5 separate regions of the Homo sapiens genome follow, and regions 2, 3, 4 and 5 are each linked to region 1. Evidence: promoter capture Hi-C in 16 types of primary human blood cells and fetal thymus (Javierre and others, 2016). All regions are on one chromosome and are shown on one strand. The core of a region is centred on a gene start or on the middle of the fragment in contact, and the rest is flanking DNA. Distances in the headings are between cores, read along the strand shown.

Evidence for each region. Contacts are between HindIII fragments. The CHiCAGO score rates a contact against its expected background, and 5 or more counts as called.
Region 2: the fragment with the promoter of TUFM here is called in contact with the fragment with the promoter of HIRIP3 in region 1 in 2 of 17 cell types (non-activated CD4 T cells and fetal thymus); the score reaches 9.8 in non-activated CD4 T cells.
Region 3: a contact is called between the fragment with the promoter of ATP2A1 here and the fragment with the promoter of HIRIP3 in region 1, in 1 of 17 cell types (fetal thymus). The highest score is 6.3, in fetal thymus.
Region 4: a contact is called between the fragment with the promoter of RABEP2 here and the fragment with the promoter of HIRIP3 in region 1, in 5 of 17 cell types (fetal thymus, total B cells, naive B cells and 2 more). The highest score is 12.2, in fetal thymus.
Region 5: a fragment that was not itself captured here is called in contact with the fragment with the promoter of HIRIP3 in region 1 in 1 of 17 cell types (erythroblasts); the score reaches 6.6 in erythroblasts.

Annotation. Positions count from the first base shown.
Region 1 is chr16:29,994,175-29,996,948 of GRCh38, forward strand. It overlaps HIRIP3 (HIRA interacting protein 3), which reads right to left and starts at 1,443. Exons shown (of 7, transcript NM_003609.5): 1 at 1,367-1,443; 2 at 1,169-1,289; 3 at 929-1,043; 4 at 1-669. The coding sequence starts at 1,431. INO80E (INO80 complex subunit E) reads left to right here and starts at 2,067. Exons shown (of 7, transcript NM_173618.3): 1 at 2,067-2,217; 2 at 2,373-2,443; 3 at 2,634-2,686. The coding sequence starts at 2,137. RefSeq lists enhancers at 1,791-1,960, 2,021-2,150. The HindIII fragment of the contact is 4,684 bases long and covers 1-2,738 here.
Region 2 is chr16:28,845,082-28,847,855 of GRCh38, forward strand. It overlaps TUFM (Tu translation elongation factor, mitochondrial), which reads right to left and starts at 1,267. Exons shown (of 10, transcript NM_003321.5): 1 at 1,137-1,267; 2 at 831-1,025; 3 at 233-399. The coding sequence starts at 1,188. It also overlaps a transcript of SH2B1 not described here. RefSeq lists an enhancer at 1,129-1,618. The HindIII fragment of the contact is 15,792 bases long and covers 1,039-2,774 here.
Region 3 is chr16:28,877,035-28,879,808 of GRCh38, forward strand. It overlaps ATP2A1 (ATPase sarcoplasmic/endoplasmic reticulum Ca2+ transporting 1), which reads left to right and starts at 1,454. Exons shown (of 23, transcript NM_004320.6): 1 at 1,454-1,755; 2 at 2,065-2,082; 3 at 2,467-2,549. The coding sequence starts at 1,638. It overlaps ATP2A1-AS1 (ATP2A1 antisense RNA 1), which reads right to left. Exons shown (of 2, transcript NR_046290.1): 1 at 2,508-2,774; 2 at 1,923-2,070. RefSeq lists enhancers at 425-494, 505-594, 1,840-2,613 and silencers at 2,684-2,733, 2,754-2,774. The HindIII fragment of the contact is 4,054 bases long and covers 1-2,749 here.
Region 4 is chr16:28,923,915-28,926,688 of GRCh38, forward strand. RABEP2 (rabaptin, RAB GTPase binding effector protein 2) reads right to left here and starts at 1,324. Exons shown (of 13, transcript NM_024816.3): 1 at 1,189-1,324; 2 at 489-701. The coding sequence starts at 1,249. RefSeq lists enhancers at 456-545, 576-805, 1,784-2,367 and silencers at 966-1,185, 1,216-1,565. The HindIII fragment of the contact is 8,433 bases long and covers 1-2,774 here.
Region 5 is chr16:28,970,478-28,973,251 of GRCh38, forward strand. No RefSeq gene overlaps it. Among named protein-coding and RNA genes, the nearest start is that of SPNS1, 2.9 kb to the right of the region's middle. The HindIII fragment of the contact is 3,657 bases long and covers 1-2,774 here.

The sequences.
Region 1 (2,774 bases), core at 193-2,692:
TAAGCTGGGTCCTGTCCTCACTCTTCCTCTGCACTGGGGGTTCTCTATCTCTCCCACTGTCATCCCCACTGCTGGCTGCCTCTTTCTGCTCTTCCTCGCTGTCTGAGTCTCCCAAGAGCCTCTTTGCCTGGCTTTTCTGCTTACAGCTCCTCTCCTCCCTAGCTGACTTTCTCCGGCCATTGCTCCTGGTTCTGGGTTTCCAATCCCCCTTTTCCTCATCCTCTTCTTTCTCTTCCTCCTCCACTTCCTCCTCTCTCTGCTCTTTCTTCTGGGCTAGGATCTCCTCTTCACTCTCCTGTTCACTTTCCTTCAGGCTTTTAGTTCCTTTATTTCCCTCCACCTTCTTTGCTGTCCTCTGAACGGGTTCTGCCTCGCTCTCCTCACTTTCTTCCCTGGCCTGCTTCCTACTGACTGAGGCCTTGCCTGGTGCCTGCTTCTTTACCACAGGTTTCTTCCTAGTCTTCCCCTTGTACCCCTTTTCCTCCTCCTCACTGCTCTCCTCTCCCCTCTGTGCGGGCAGGTCCCTCTGCCGTTCCTCATCACTGCTCTCCTCAACTGCCTTTGAGGCTCGCCTTGGATTCTCCTCTTTGGCTGGGCTGACTTCTGCTGCCACCCCATTCTTTGCTGGGGGTCCAAAGTAGTCTGGGCTGGAGGCTTCAGAGCCGGACTCTGGAATATGGAGAGGAGAGAGGGTTGAGACAGGCTCCTCCTGTCCCTTCTCCCTTCACTTCGGATAGGTTGCCTCGAGCCCTGCCCTGACAGTTGGAGGGGCAGCAGGAAACAGCTATCTGTACTTGCTGTTCCCGGTTCCTGACTCACTAGCCTTGCTCCCTCATCTAACGCCTGGGGACATAAGAGATGCGCAGTGAATGCTTCTTGAGTGAACCAACGATGCAGAAGGCCCCCACAGCAGGGAGGAAGCACTAACCCGACTCTGAATTGAAGCGGAACCTTTTTCTCTCCGGGTCGCTACAAGGGGTGGGAGGCCTCTTGCCCTTCTTGGTAAGGTCCAGTTTGTCTTCCCTGGAAGCGGCTTCATCCACCTGTGTGTGCGCCAAGAGGGCAAACTATGCACCAAGGCTGCGCTCACCGCGCCCCGTCAGGCCCCTCCTCCTCAGCAGCAAGCCCCGCCTCCGCCTCCCGCGGCCCAGGCTCCGGCCCGGCACACCTGCATCTTCAGCAGCTCCTCCTCCACCAGCCGCTTCAGTGCCTGCTTCTCCTCGGGCTCCAGGTGGCTGCGGCCCGAGTGAGCTAAGTACCTCCGCCGCACGATGGAATGCGTAAGCGTGCTGCAGGGACATGGTGTCAGGACGGAGTCCCGACCCACCCGCGCCCTTTCCAACCCCATCTCCAACCCCCTGGGCACCTGAGGTCCGGGCGGCCTCGGAAGAAGCTACGGGTGAACTCCTGCATCTCCTTCTCCCGCGCCATTTTGCTCAACCCGGGATTGACGGCTCCCGCCTTTTTTTCTTCTCGGCCTCCGTCAGCGCGTTTGACAGCGGCTCGCGCACGCGCAGTGCTGCGGCAACGTGGGGCGAGGGACCGTTGGCCCTTGGCCGCGGACCGCGTGGGCCGAGAACTTTGCCAGACGAGACTTGTTTTCTCTGGGCAGTTGGAGGGTCTCGCGGCTCCTACCCTTTTTTGGAACGGATCATTTTAAAAGTTCTCGTTAGAAACCAATTCGGCGCCGGCACCCTTTGGGTGAAACCTAATCAGCCCGCGACGCTGCCTTTCTCACTGGTCACGGGCAACAGCTAGGCTGCTGTTATTTCGCAAGGCAGAAGAGAAAAGGCATCCTCGCGAGCAGATGAGGAACCTCGGGGATAAATCCTTTTGTGGCTTCAAGTGTCTAAGTACATTAGAGTCAGGAACGGCGCTTTCCAGCGTCCGCCATTTTTGTGGCGTCACCGCGTCGCTGCTACGCCATCCCCAGCGCAGTGGCTGCCGCGCTCCTGTCCCAGTGTCCCCCGGGAGGTCGGCCCGTGCGGTGACGCCCCTGAGCGCGGGGTACGCCGGGAGTTGTAGTCCTGACGGCACAGCCTTGCAGCGTCTCCGGAAGTGGAGGCGGGAGCGGCACGGCAGCCACTGCTTGGGGTAGCGGGAGGGCAGACTCTGGGCGCCACTCCCGGGCCGGTCATGAACGGGCCGGCGGACGGCGAAGTGGACTACAAAAAAAAATACCGGAATCTGAAGCGGAAGCTCAAGTTCCTCATCTACGTGAGTGCTGCCGCGGGAAGGCTGTGGGGGATGAGGCCTGGCGCGGACAAGATCTCAGTTTACCCAGGTGTAAAGTGGGTGGGGCGAGCGGCCGCTGGTTCCGGGGCCCTTCACGGAGGACCGTTGGCCCAGCGCACCCCTTGCCCGTGATACAGGAGCACGAGTGCTTCCAGGAGGAGCTGAGGAAAGCGCAAAGGAAATTACTGAAGGTGTCCCGGGACAAGAGGTGAGGCACGTTGCAGGGGCGGAGGGCGATGTGCTTCCTAGGAAATCTACATTCGGACCCCATCCCCGAGTAGGGCCACAAGTGCATGGGCTCTTTCAAGTATCCGATGGGCCAGCTGGGAGGGACAGGTACCCAGGAGGACATTGCTGCGCTGGAAAATCACTGTCCGTGTCTCCTTCCCTCCCCTCAGTTTCCTCCTAGACCGACTTCTGCAGTACGAGAACGTGGATGAAGACTCTTCGGGTGAGCAAGGTCTTCAAAAATTGGTGGAGAGCATGGTTCCTGGTACTTAGCAAGCTTCCTGGGCCCCCGCCTTTTAGGCAGTGGTGGC
Region 2 (2,774 bases), core at 17-2,516, 1.1 Mb before region 1:
CCAAGTTCAACGAGCTCTTCAGTTCACATCCATATAGCCAAGTGTAGCAGTTAGAAACTCAGGCCCACCTTTCTCTACCATCTCCTCACCACCCATTCTGCGTGGCCAAGACCACAAACCTGCCATCTCATACCCAAACACTGAATATCTTAATCTCCTCCCCACAAGCCTAACATTTATCCTGACAAGAGGCAGCTTCTGGCCCTGTCTCCAGTGTCCCAGCAACCCTCACCTTAACATAATCTGCATGACCCGGGCAGTCTGTGTGGGCGTAGTGGCGGGCGGCAGTGCTATACTCCACATGAGCCGCATTGATGGTGATACCCCGAGCTCGCTCCTCCGGGGCATTGTCAATCTCCTCGTACTTCTTGAACTTAGCCCCACCTCCCTCAGCTAGAACTAAAGGAGGAAAAGAACACACCTCTCAGCTAAAGTTCCAGTGCTAGAGGCAGAGCTTAGACCACGCCCCTGAACCCTCCCACCTAAATACATAACCTCCTCCAATCTCTAACTCTTCCAGCAGAGAGAACTGTGGGTCAGAAAGAAATGTTAGAGGGCCTTAAGGGTCTGCCCTGTGACTTCTTTAGGGTACAGCCTCTGCTTGCAGAGCATTCCCCACGACTTTGTGATCCCCAAGCCATTGGTGGATCACAAAGTTCTTCCTGTTCAGGAGAAATTTGTCTCTTGCATCTCCCAATCCACCTGTCGCACAAATTCGGGCTCTTGGGGCCACAGTAAACTCCTCCAGCAGACACTCTGCTGGCCTTGCCTCCCTGGCTCCAGGTCCCATCAGTAGATAGGGCGCTGCTGGACGCCCCAACCCCACTCACTCTTCGTGATGGCTGCAGTCAGCGTGGTCTTCCCGTGGTCCACATGGCCGATGGTACCCACATTCACATGTGGCTTGTCGCGCACGTAAGTCTTCTTGGCCTCCACGGCCAGGCCGCGGCACAAGAGAGGCAATGCCGGGGCTTTCAGCAGCCGCAACAGACCCTGCAGCAGGAAGGTCCGGCCGGCGGCGAGACCTGCCGGGACCGAAGCTTGGAGTCAGGCAGGGAAGGGGTCAGACCGAACCCAGCCACCTACCACTCCCCCAAAGTGTTCCTGGGCCGCCATCGCCCTCCCTGACCACTCACCGCTGAAGTGGGGCGTCGCGCGCAGCAGGGTGGCGGCCGCCATTGTGGTCATACTCGCGCCCCGGTAACCGGGGAGCCGGGACCAGGAGCCCGAGCGCACAGAAGAAGAAGGGCGCCTGCGGCTGGAAGGCACTTCCGGCGGAAGTTAGAGCTGGGAGGGCAAGTCCGGGCCCCTCTAGCCGCCAGTGTCTATGGCCGTCTCAGCCGACGTCGGGCGCGCGGCTGAAGACGTCATGGAGGGGGCTGGTGTCTCGAGGGCGGAGTATGATGGAGAGGTTTTCCACCACTCGCGCCTCTCGGGCTGAGGGGCAACGTAGTTCTCTCTGGCGGTCGCAGGGGGCACTGAGGAGCGTCCCCTAAATCACCGGCGCCGCGAAGGCTCATGGGCGTAGTAGTTCTCAGGTCGGCGGGCTGTGGAGGTGATCAGAGTGGGAGTCAGGCGGGCTAGGCCGGACCCGGAGGGAGGGGCTCGGGCTCCGGGAGGCAGCTGCGGCTCCGACTGCTCAGGAACCTCCTCCTGGGCCCGGCAGAGAGAGACCCCGAGTCCCCCGGAGTCCGACTCGCTACGCGGGTCTTGCGAGATATCTGGCCGCCTCTGCCGCAGCTGGAGGTAGGGGACCAGGTCCTGGACGCCTTTCGGGGATGGGGTGAAGTGTGACCTCCCTCTTCGCTGAGACTTTGTTTTCTAATCTGTAAAATGGGAATAGTAGTATCCACTTCATAGGGAGAGCCTGACATCTAGCCCTGAGAGGAGATGAACTGGGTAGGAGTCAGTGTTGGGCCCTGTGAGGTCAGGCAGCTTGCGGGGACCCTGTACTGCTAGACCTCACAGGGCCAGAGCCCACAAGACAGACAGCTTCGCTGCCCACCCCTGTAGTCCCTCAGCAGCCTAAGGAGCAGTTCCGTTGGGCATCGCCCCACCCATCTAATTTTGCAGATGAGGAGCCAAGGATGAGGAGCCAGCTAGGGGAGCCTTTAAGGGGAGCCTGAGTCTCCTTTAATCTGTCGGTGTCCCCAGCACCTAACAGGGTGGAGCATGCAGTGAATGTTGAATGAATGGGTGCAAGGGTAGTCAATGTCCCTTAACTTTCACATCCATCATCTCATGGCAGCTTCCACAGGGCACTCCAAAGTGTTAATTATGGCTGCTTAACCCTGGCTAATGTTTCGGAACTCATCAGATCCTGAGACTCAGTGGACAGTGTTTGTTTCAAATAGATTCCCTAATTCCTCCCCTGGAGGTTATGATTCCGTGGGGTCTATGCACAGACTGGGAAGCTATATAACAAACACTCTTCTAAAACTGAGAAGAGGCTGGGCACGGTGGCTATAGTGCCAGCCTATAGTCCCAGCAGTTTGGGAGGCTGAGGTGGGAGGACGGTTTGAAGCCAGGAGTTCAAGACCAGCCTGGGCAGATTAGGAGACCCTATCTCTACAAAAAAAAATTTAAAATTAGCCAGGCACAGTAGCATGCAGCTATAGCCCCTCCTACTCAGGAGGCCGAGGCAGGAGGATCGCCTGAGCTCAGGAGTTCAAGGCTGTGGTGAGGTATGATCATGACACTGCACCCCACCGTGAGTGACAGAGAAAGACCCCATCTTTTTTTTTTTTTTTTTTTTTTTTTTGGAGACAGAGTCT
Region 3 (2,774 bases), core at 204-2,703, 1.1 Mb before region 1:
TCCTCCCCTTCCTGCACCCCTGGTACCCTCCCTCGGCTCCTCCAGCAGCTGCCCTGGTGGTAACCAAGAGACGCCCCCATCCTGGAGCAGGGGTGGGGAGGGGCAGCTCAGAGCAGCTGCTTCTCTGAGGAAGCTGACACCAAGGCCAGCATTCAGCAACAACTTGTGGCTTTGCACCCAGCGCCGGGGTCCCCGCCCACCTGGCTCCCTGCTGTCCCTCTTCCCCACTGCTGCTCGGACTTCCCTCTGACCCTGGTGGCTCTGTGTCTCTGCTCCCTTTCCCCCTAGGTCTAGACATCTGTCCTTATTTCCCCCAGACCTGTCCCCAGAAGTCCACCCTTCCCCATTCCTTTGGTCTGGAGCCCCTGCTTGGTCCAGCTTCCCCAGGCCCCGACACCTTTCTGTGGGGTCTGCCTAGCTCCTGCACGCACACAGCATGGGCCTGATCCTGTTCCCCTCGTGGACAGATGCAGCAGGGCAGAGTGCAGCGCAGACCACAGGCCTCTGGGGCTGGCCACAGAAACCCCGTTGGTTAGAGCACAGTGTGGGATGAGGTGACCCTCAGTGCACGACTTGGGGTGACCCCTGCCCCCATCCTGAGACAGTTACCCCTCCCCCTCTGCCATCAGCACATTCTGTAGCCTCTTGGGTTACTTGGCTGCCTTGGTGTCCCATTTTCTTGGGGGTGGGGTGGGGATTCCCTATCCAGGATGGGGGGGCCCTCAGGGCTCTGTTCCCAGAGGCTGAGTTAGAGCGATGGGGAAGGGGGGGGGCAGTTTTGGGGAGAGACAGGCAGTGCTGGCTTTGCTCACCAGGGCCTGGACACTAAATCCCTTGTTGATGGCTGTGGCAACCCCTCCCTAGGGTAGGGTTACCATCTTCGGCCCTGTCCCCTTGACTCTCTCCCCTCACTTCCCCTTGTCCCTCTAGGAGCCACTCACTTCCTCTAGCCCCCAAAAGATGTTCTCCCTTCATCAGTCCCCCAAAGGCTTGGGGTATCTCTGCCACTGCTTCAGCAAATGGGGTGAGGAGGAAGGAGACTGCGGCAATGGAAACAGGCTCCGGGCAGATGAGGCAGGAAGGGGGGTGTGAGGAAAGGGACAGGTGAGGCCGGGGATGGAAGAGGGCTCCGGGAAGAACTGGGGGGATGAGTTTGGAATGGGAAATTCAATGCAGCTGGGGAAGTCGAGGCAATGGGGGGGCAGGGTCAGTAGCAGATGACAGAAAGTGAAGTCTCTCCCTACCCCACTTCCCTGGGGCTGGGGCTACCTTTGCGTCCCTCATGAGTGACATCTCAGGCTGCAGCCCCACTGTTCCCCCTCTGTCAGCAGAAATATCTCTCTTTTCTGACCACCTCCTGCTGGAGTCTCAGCCAGCCAATCCCTGATCTGGTGGAGGGGGGAGCCCGGCCTCCCCCTGCTCCCTCATAAGGACCAGCTGGGGGCCGGGGGGTGGCCGGCTGCTCAAGTGGGACGGGGGTCAGAGCTTTGTGGAGGGAAGAAAAACCTGGAGGGGGCAGGAGAGTAAAAAGAAGAAACCCAGGCAGACAGGCAGTTGGACACACTGAGGAAGACCCCCCACGAGTGGGAACCCCCTGGAAGGAACACACCGGCCCCGGCCCCCAGGAAGGGAGCACAATGGAGGCCGCTCATGCTAAAACCACGGAGGAATGTTTGGCCTATTTTGGGGTGAGTGAGACCACGGGCCTCACCCCGGACCAAGTTAAGCGGAATCTGGAGAAATACGGCCTCAATGGTAAGTGTCCCTTGGAAGAGCGGCTGGTAATTAATGCCCTCCTGCACCCCCAAAACACACGCACACGCATGCACGCGTTTCTCCCTTCAGGGTTTCTTAAGGAAGAGCTGGGCCGTTGTCCAATGCTCGCAGGGGGAAGAAGATACTGAGAAAACAGAGTCCCGAGATCCAGAGTTTTGGGAGGTTTTAATGGGATGAACTTGATGAACCTCAAGGTGGCCTGATTCTCTTAGCCACAAAGTCTTGGGTGTGGGGGGCATGAGGCTGAACCCCAAATGAATCTGTCCTTTTCTTCTTTTTCCTGGGTAGAGCTCCCTGCTGAGGAAGGTAAGTTACTGGAATCCCTGAACTCTCATAAATGACCACCCCCCACCCCGCCCTGTCCCACTCCCTCCTCCCTGCCTCTTTAGATTCTTTGAGCAAATATCCCTTCCCAAAAGGCAAATCTCCCTCCCTAAAGGTTAGAGTCCTGTCCGGGGCAGAAGTCTCCCAGGCGCTTTCTCCTTGAAGCAGCCAACCCTTGAACTGCCCCCCACTTTGCCGAGTCTGTTTCTGGACTCCAGGCGAGCTTCTTAGCCCTTCTCTGGGCACCAAGCTGTCTGCCCACCACCCTAGAGCCTCCCCACTGCAGGCCGGAGTCCAGGGCGCTCCATCCCAGACCTTCACCCACTAGACCTTAACCCGGGGCCCTCCCCTTGCCTCCTCCCCCAGGGAAGACCCTGTGGGAGCTGGTGATAGAGCAGTTTGAAGACCTCCTGGTGCGGATTCTCCTCCTGGCCGCATGCATTTCCTTCGTAAGTGTGGGAGGGTCTCTGGGGGCTGGCTGGGGGTGTGAGGCTGGGATCGGGCGAATGCGGGGCTCGCAGTCACTGGATCCTCCCGTCCGAGTCCCGAGCATCCCATTGTACAGACGGGGCGGGCTGGCGCGCAGCAGCGGGTGTGATTCGCGTCCTCCTCTCTCCTCCCCTGCACCCCAGAGGCAGGTTTTATTTTAAGCTTTAAGGGTGTTCTCAGCCAAA
Region 4 (2,774 bases), core at 74-2,573, 1.1 Mb before region 1:
GGGCCAGAGGACCAAGTACAAAGAACGTGGGGCGGAGGTGGGGAAGCTGGTGCATGGCGTGGGGTGGAGGGGGGAGTGTCTGGGGAAGGCTAGAGAGCAGAGCATTAGACTCACAGAGACTGGGCCAGGGCTGATTCTATTTCCCAGAAGTCCAGACTAAAATGAGGTTGGTTTGGGGAACTGAGAAGTTTCTCGCCCATCTTCAGGGTTGATCAATCATCAGTGAGGGACAAGAAATGACATGGGACAAGGCAACAGATAGAAGCTGGGAGCTAAACTTAGCTATAACTGACAGAGCTGCTGCTATCACATGGAGGGCCTCTATGCAAATTTTAAAAGGGCGGCCCTTCCTCTGGGCCATAGGCATGCCCTGTGCCAGGCAGCCCTGCTAACCTATCCCATAGCTTATCTGTGCCCCCAATCCCTTTCTCGTCATGCACTCCCCAGTATGGGGTTGATGGGGAGTCTAGGTGAGTCCCGCGTCTCACCTTTCAGGATGGCCTGCAGCGAGGCCACCTCCTCTTGGCACTGCCGCTGCACCGCAGCCACAGCCTCGGCCTTCGTGCTCTCGCTCACCTCTGCCACAGCCTTCATGGTTTCCATTTCTGCCAGGGCGCCTGCCAGCTCAGCCCGAAGCCGGCTGAGCTCACCTGACTCGGCCTCACCATTTGCCCCTTCCTGGGACCGGGAGTCCTCCAGTGCTGTGGGGGACAGGGATCAGCCTCTCTTCCCATCTCTTACCCCAGGCCACCTACCGGCTTAGCAAGTCCTGCAACCTAGTACTGTTGCCTTCATCTGGGGCCTCCTTCACCTGGGCCCGCCCGGCTCACCTGGCCCCGCCCCTGCCCCGCCCCCTTCCCACTCGCTCTGCCGGGTGCTGCCTACACTCCATCTCTTCGCGGTGGCCAGTTTCACTCAGTCCTCTCTTCGGTCCCACCTGGCCCCGCCCTCCTAGTGGCCGCGCCCCTTCCTCACCGGGCCCCACTTCGCACCTGTCACTGGCCCTACCCCTTCAATGGCCGGGCCACGCCCCCTTTTGCCTGTGGCTGTAGGCCCCGCCCCCTTTCCCGACGGCGTGGCCCCGCCCCTTCCTCCATCATCCCTCTCCACCCCCCATCCGCAGGTGGCTGGCTCGGCCCCGCCCCCAGCATCACCGTTCCCCGCTTGCACGGACGCCCCCTCACGTACCAGCCCCCGGCCGCCGCCGCCGCTCATCGTCGTCCGCGGCCACCGGCGCAGCTGCCGCCATTGCCTCAGCGCAAACGGCGGATTCCCGCACTCCCTGGTGACGGAGCGCACCGCTTCCGGGTCCTCTCGGCTGTTTCCGGATCCGCTCGGCTGTTTCCGGATCGGCCCCGGGCTGGAGGCCCCGGACGGAGGATGGGGGGATTGCCGAGCCTCGGCCGAAGATTCCCGAGTCGGCCCCCGGCCCCGGCCCCGGCCCCGCCCCGGCTCTTCTTGGCTGGGTCGCGCGGTTCGGGAGGACGCCTGCCTTTCAAGCCCGGAAGAGGATCCTTAAGAGGTCTTGCCCGGCGTCTCTCCGTGACCTTGGAAGCCCTGCTCCAATTATGCCTCCTCCGGGACACCGGCCTGCGGAGAGCTCCCCCTCGCTCCCTCGCTGCCCCTGCCCGGAGCCAGCCTTTGATCGGCTCCGGCCGCCCTTCCGCCCGAGCCTGGCTTGCGTTACCGCGAATTGTGGCGGGGCCCTCCCTGCACCTCCGCCCTCTTGGAGCGTCCCTCGGGGCAGGGCCGGGTCGGCTTCATTTTTCTGAGCGCCTCGGAGTCCCCGCGTAGTTAGTCGGAGTCTGAAACTTGCACGTCCCCACCCCCATTTTGTTACTCAGCCAGTCACCGCTTCCTGCTGGCCCCCCTTTCCTCCTCCCAACGCCCTCAAATCCCTCCTCTCCTCTCCGCCTGTGTCTAGATCAGGCTCTTTATCTGTGACCTCCACCCGGACGGTGACAGGCAATTCAGATTTATGTCCAGAGCCTTGGTTCCCCTTCCCTCAAACCTTTTTTCCCTCTGTAAAGGACACGCCAGGAACCTGGAAGTCCTTGATTCTACGTGTCCTCCTGCAAGTCCCGTAAACTCTACTTCCAATGTGCTGACTATTCCAGAATGTGCCCCTTTTTCTCCATCTCCAGCGCTAACACTCCGTCCCAGCTCCCATCACTTCTCCTGAACTTCCGCAGTGTCGACTCCACCCTTTAATTAATTAATTCTCCGTAAAGCAGCTGGAGCGATTTTTGTAAAACAGATAATGCAGTTTGAAAATGGCCAAAGGTAGAACGCTTTTACACTGTTGGTGGGAATGTAAATTAGTTCAACCATTGTGGAAGACAGTGTGGTGATTCCTCAAAGACCTAGAACCAGAAATACCATTTGACCCAGAAATCCCATTACTGGGTATATACCTAAAGGAATATAAATCATTCTATTACAAAGATACATGCACGAGTATGTTCATTGAAGCACTATTCAAAATAGCAAAGACATGGACTCAACCCAAATGCCCATCAATGATAGACTGGATAAAGAAAATGTGGTACATATACACCATGGAATACTATACAGCCATAAAAAGGAACGAGATCATGTCCTTTGCAGGGACATGGATGAAGCTAGAAGCTATTATCCTCAGCAAATTAATGCAGCAACAGAAAGCTAAACATGCATGTTCTCACTTATAAGTGGGAGCTGAACAATGAGAACACATGGACACAGGGAGGGGACCAACACACATGGGGGCCTGTGGGGTGGGTGTTGGGAGGGGG
Region 5 (2,774 bases), core at 195-2,694, 1.0 Mb before region 1:
TCACCACCACGCCTGGCTAATCTTTGTATTTTTAATAGAGACAGGGTTTCCCCATGTTGGCCAGGCTGGTCTCAAACTCCTGAACTCAAGTGATCCTCCTGCCAAAGTGCTGGGATTACAGGCGTGAACCACCACTCCCGGCCTATTGTAGTTTAATTAATATGCCTAAACATTGACTCATTTTAAGCATACAGTTCAGTGAATTTTTTCAAAAAATTATTTATGTAGAGACAGGGTCTTGCTCTGTCACCCAGGCTGGAGTGCAGTGGCGCAATCATAGTTCACTGCAGCCTCAAACTCCTGGCCTCAAACATCTTCCCATTTCAGCCTCCCTAAGTGCTGGAATTACAGGCATGAGCCACCATGCCTGGCCTTCAGTGAGTTTTGGTAGATGTACACGGTTGTGCAAAAGTTTCCTTCTCTTGCCCATGACCCCAGGCAACCACTAATCTGCTTTCTGTCACCTTACTTTTGCCTTCTCTGGATGTTCATATAAATGGAATAACAGTATGCAGTGTTTTGTGTCTGGCTTCTTTTACTTAACACAATGTTTCTGCGTTTGTATCAGTAGTTCTGTTACAGGACAGGGGTCCCGATCCAGACCCCAAGTGAAGGTTCTTGGATCTCGTGCAAGAAAGAATTCAGGGTGAGTCCACAGTGTGAAGTAAAAGCAAGTTTATTAAGAAAGTAAACTGGGCCGGGCACAGTGGCTCACACCTGTAATCCTAGCACTTTGGGAGGCTGAGGTGGGCGGATCACCTGAGGTCAGGAGTTCAAGACCAGCCTGGCCAACATGGCGAAACCCTATCTTTACTAAAAATACAAAAATTAGCTGGGCGAGATGGTTGGGGCCTATAATGTCAGCTACTTGGGAGGCTGAGGCAGGAGACTCACTTGAACCTGGGAGGCAGAGGTTACAGTGAGCTGAGATCATGCCATTGCACTCCAGCCTGGGCTACAGAGTGAGACTCCGTCTCAAAAAAAAAAAAAAAAAAAAGTAAACTGGTGAAAGTACAGCTACTCCATAGACAGAGTAGGACATTCCTGAAAGTAAGAAGGGGAAGGCATCCACCTTATGTACAAGACTCATATATATGGGGAGATGTGCTCTGCTACAAGGGTTTGTGATAAAGGATTTTTTTTTTTTTTTTTTTTGAGATGGAGTCTCGCTCTGTCGCCCAGGCTGGAGTGCTGTGGCACGATCTTGGCTCACTGCAACCTCCGCCTCCTGGGTCCCAATTTAAGCAATTCTCCTGCCTCAGCCTCCTGAGTAGCTGGGATTACAGGAACACGCCACTATGCCCAGCTAATTTTTGTATTTTTAGTAGAGATGGGGTTTCACCATGTTGGCCAGGCTGGCCTTGAACTCCTGACCTCGTGATCCGCCTGCCTTGACCTCCCAAAGTGCTGGGATTACAGGCATAAGCCACTGCGCCCGGCTAATTTTCTTAATTACTATATTTAGCAAGAATCAATATTGTTATCTTTAAAGCAAAATTAGGAATGCTTTGTTCTCCATATATTGGGATATCTGGACACTCCCAAGTCTGGGTCTGTTTAGTAAACATTATATTATTATTATTTGAGATGGAGTTTTGCTCTTGTTGCCCGGGTGGGAGTGCAGTGGTGCTCTCTCAACTCACTGCAGCCTCTGCCTCCCAGGTTCAAGTGATTCTTCTGCCTCAGCCTCCTGAGTAGTTGGGATTACAGGTGTGTGCTACCATGCCCGGCTAATTTTTTTTTTTTTTTTTTGAGACGGTGTCTCACACGGTTGCCCAGGCTGGAGTGCAGTGGCACAATCTCGGCTCACTGCAGCCTCTGCCCCCTGGGTTCAAGCAGTTCTCTGCCTCAACCTCCCGAGTAGCTGGGATTGCAGACGCCCACCACCACGTCTGGCTAATTTTTTGTGTGTGTTTTTAGTAGAGATGGGTTTTCACCATCTTGGCCAGGCTGGTCTTGAACTCCTGACCTTGTGATCCACCCGCCTCGCCCTCCCAAAGTGTTGGGATTACAGGCGTGAGCCACTGCGCCCGGCCTAGTAAACGTTATTGTTTCCTTAACCATAAACATGTCGAGTCTAGGAATGCCTTACTTTCTGTAATTCAGTCCAGCAAGTCCCAGCCTTATTTTCCTAACCGTCACTCAAGATGGAGTCACTCTGGTCCGAACGTCTCTGACAGTTCATTCCTTTTTCTTGTTAAGCTATTCCCGTTGTATGAATAGATTATGCCCCTGTTGATGGACATGTGGATTCTTTTCATTTTTGGGCTATTATGAATAATGCATTTATGAACATTCATATACAGGTTTTTGTTTGGACACGTTTTCATTTCTCATTGGTGGTTACCTAGGAGTGGAATTGCTGGGTCATATGGGAAGTGTATATTTAATTTTTATTTATTTAGTTTTTTTGTAGAGATGAGTCTTGCTTTGTTGCCCAGGCTGATCTTGAACTCCTGGGCTGAAGTGATCCTCCCACCTCAGCTTCCCAAAGGGCTAGGATTACAGGCATGAGCCACTGTGCCTGGCCAAAAACACAATTTTTAAAATGGACAAAAGAGCTGGGTGCAGTGGCTCACACCTGTAGTCCTAGCATTTTGGGAGGATGAGGTGGGAGGATTGCTTGAGTTCAGGAGTTCCAGACTAGCCTGGACAACATAGCGATAACTCATCTCTACAAATATAAAAATTAAAATGACACTGGGCATGGTGGCTCACCCCTGTAATCCCAGCACGGTGGGAGGCTGAGGCGGGCAGATCACTTGAGGTCAGGA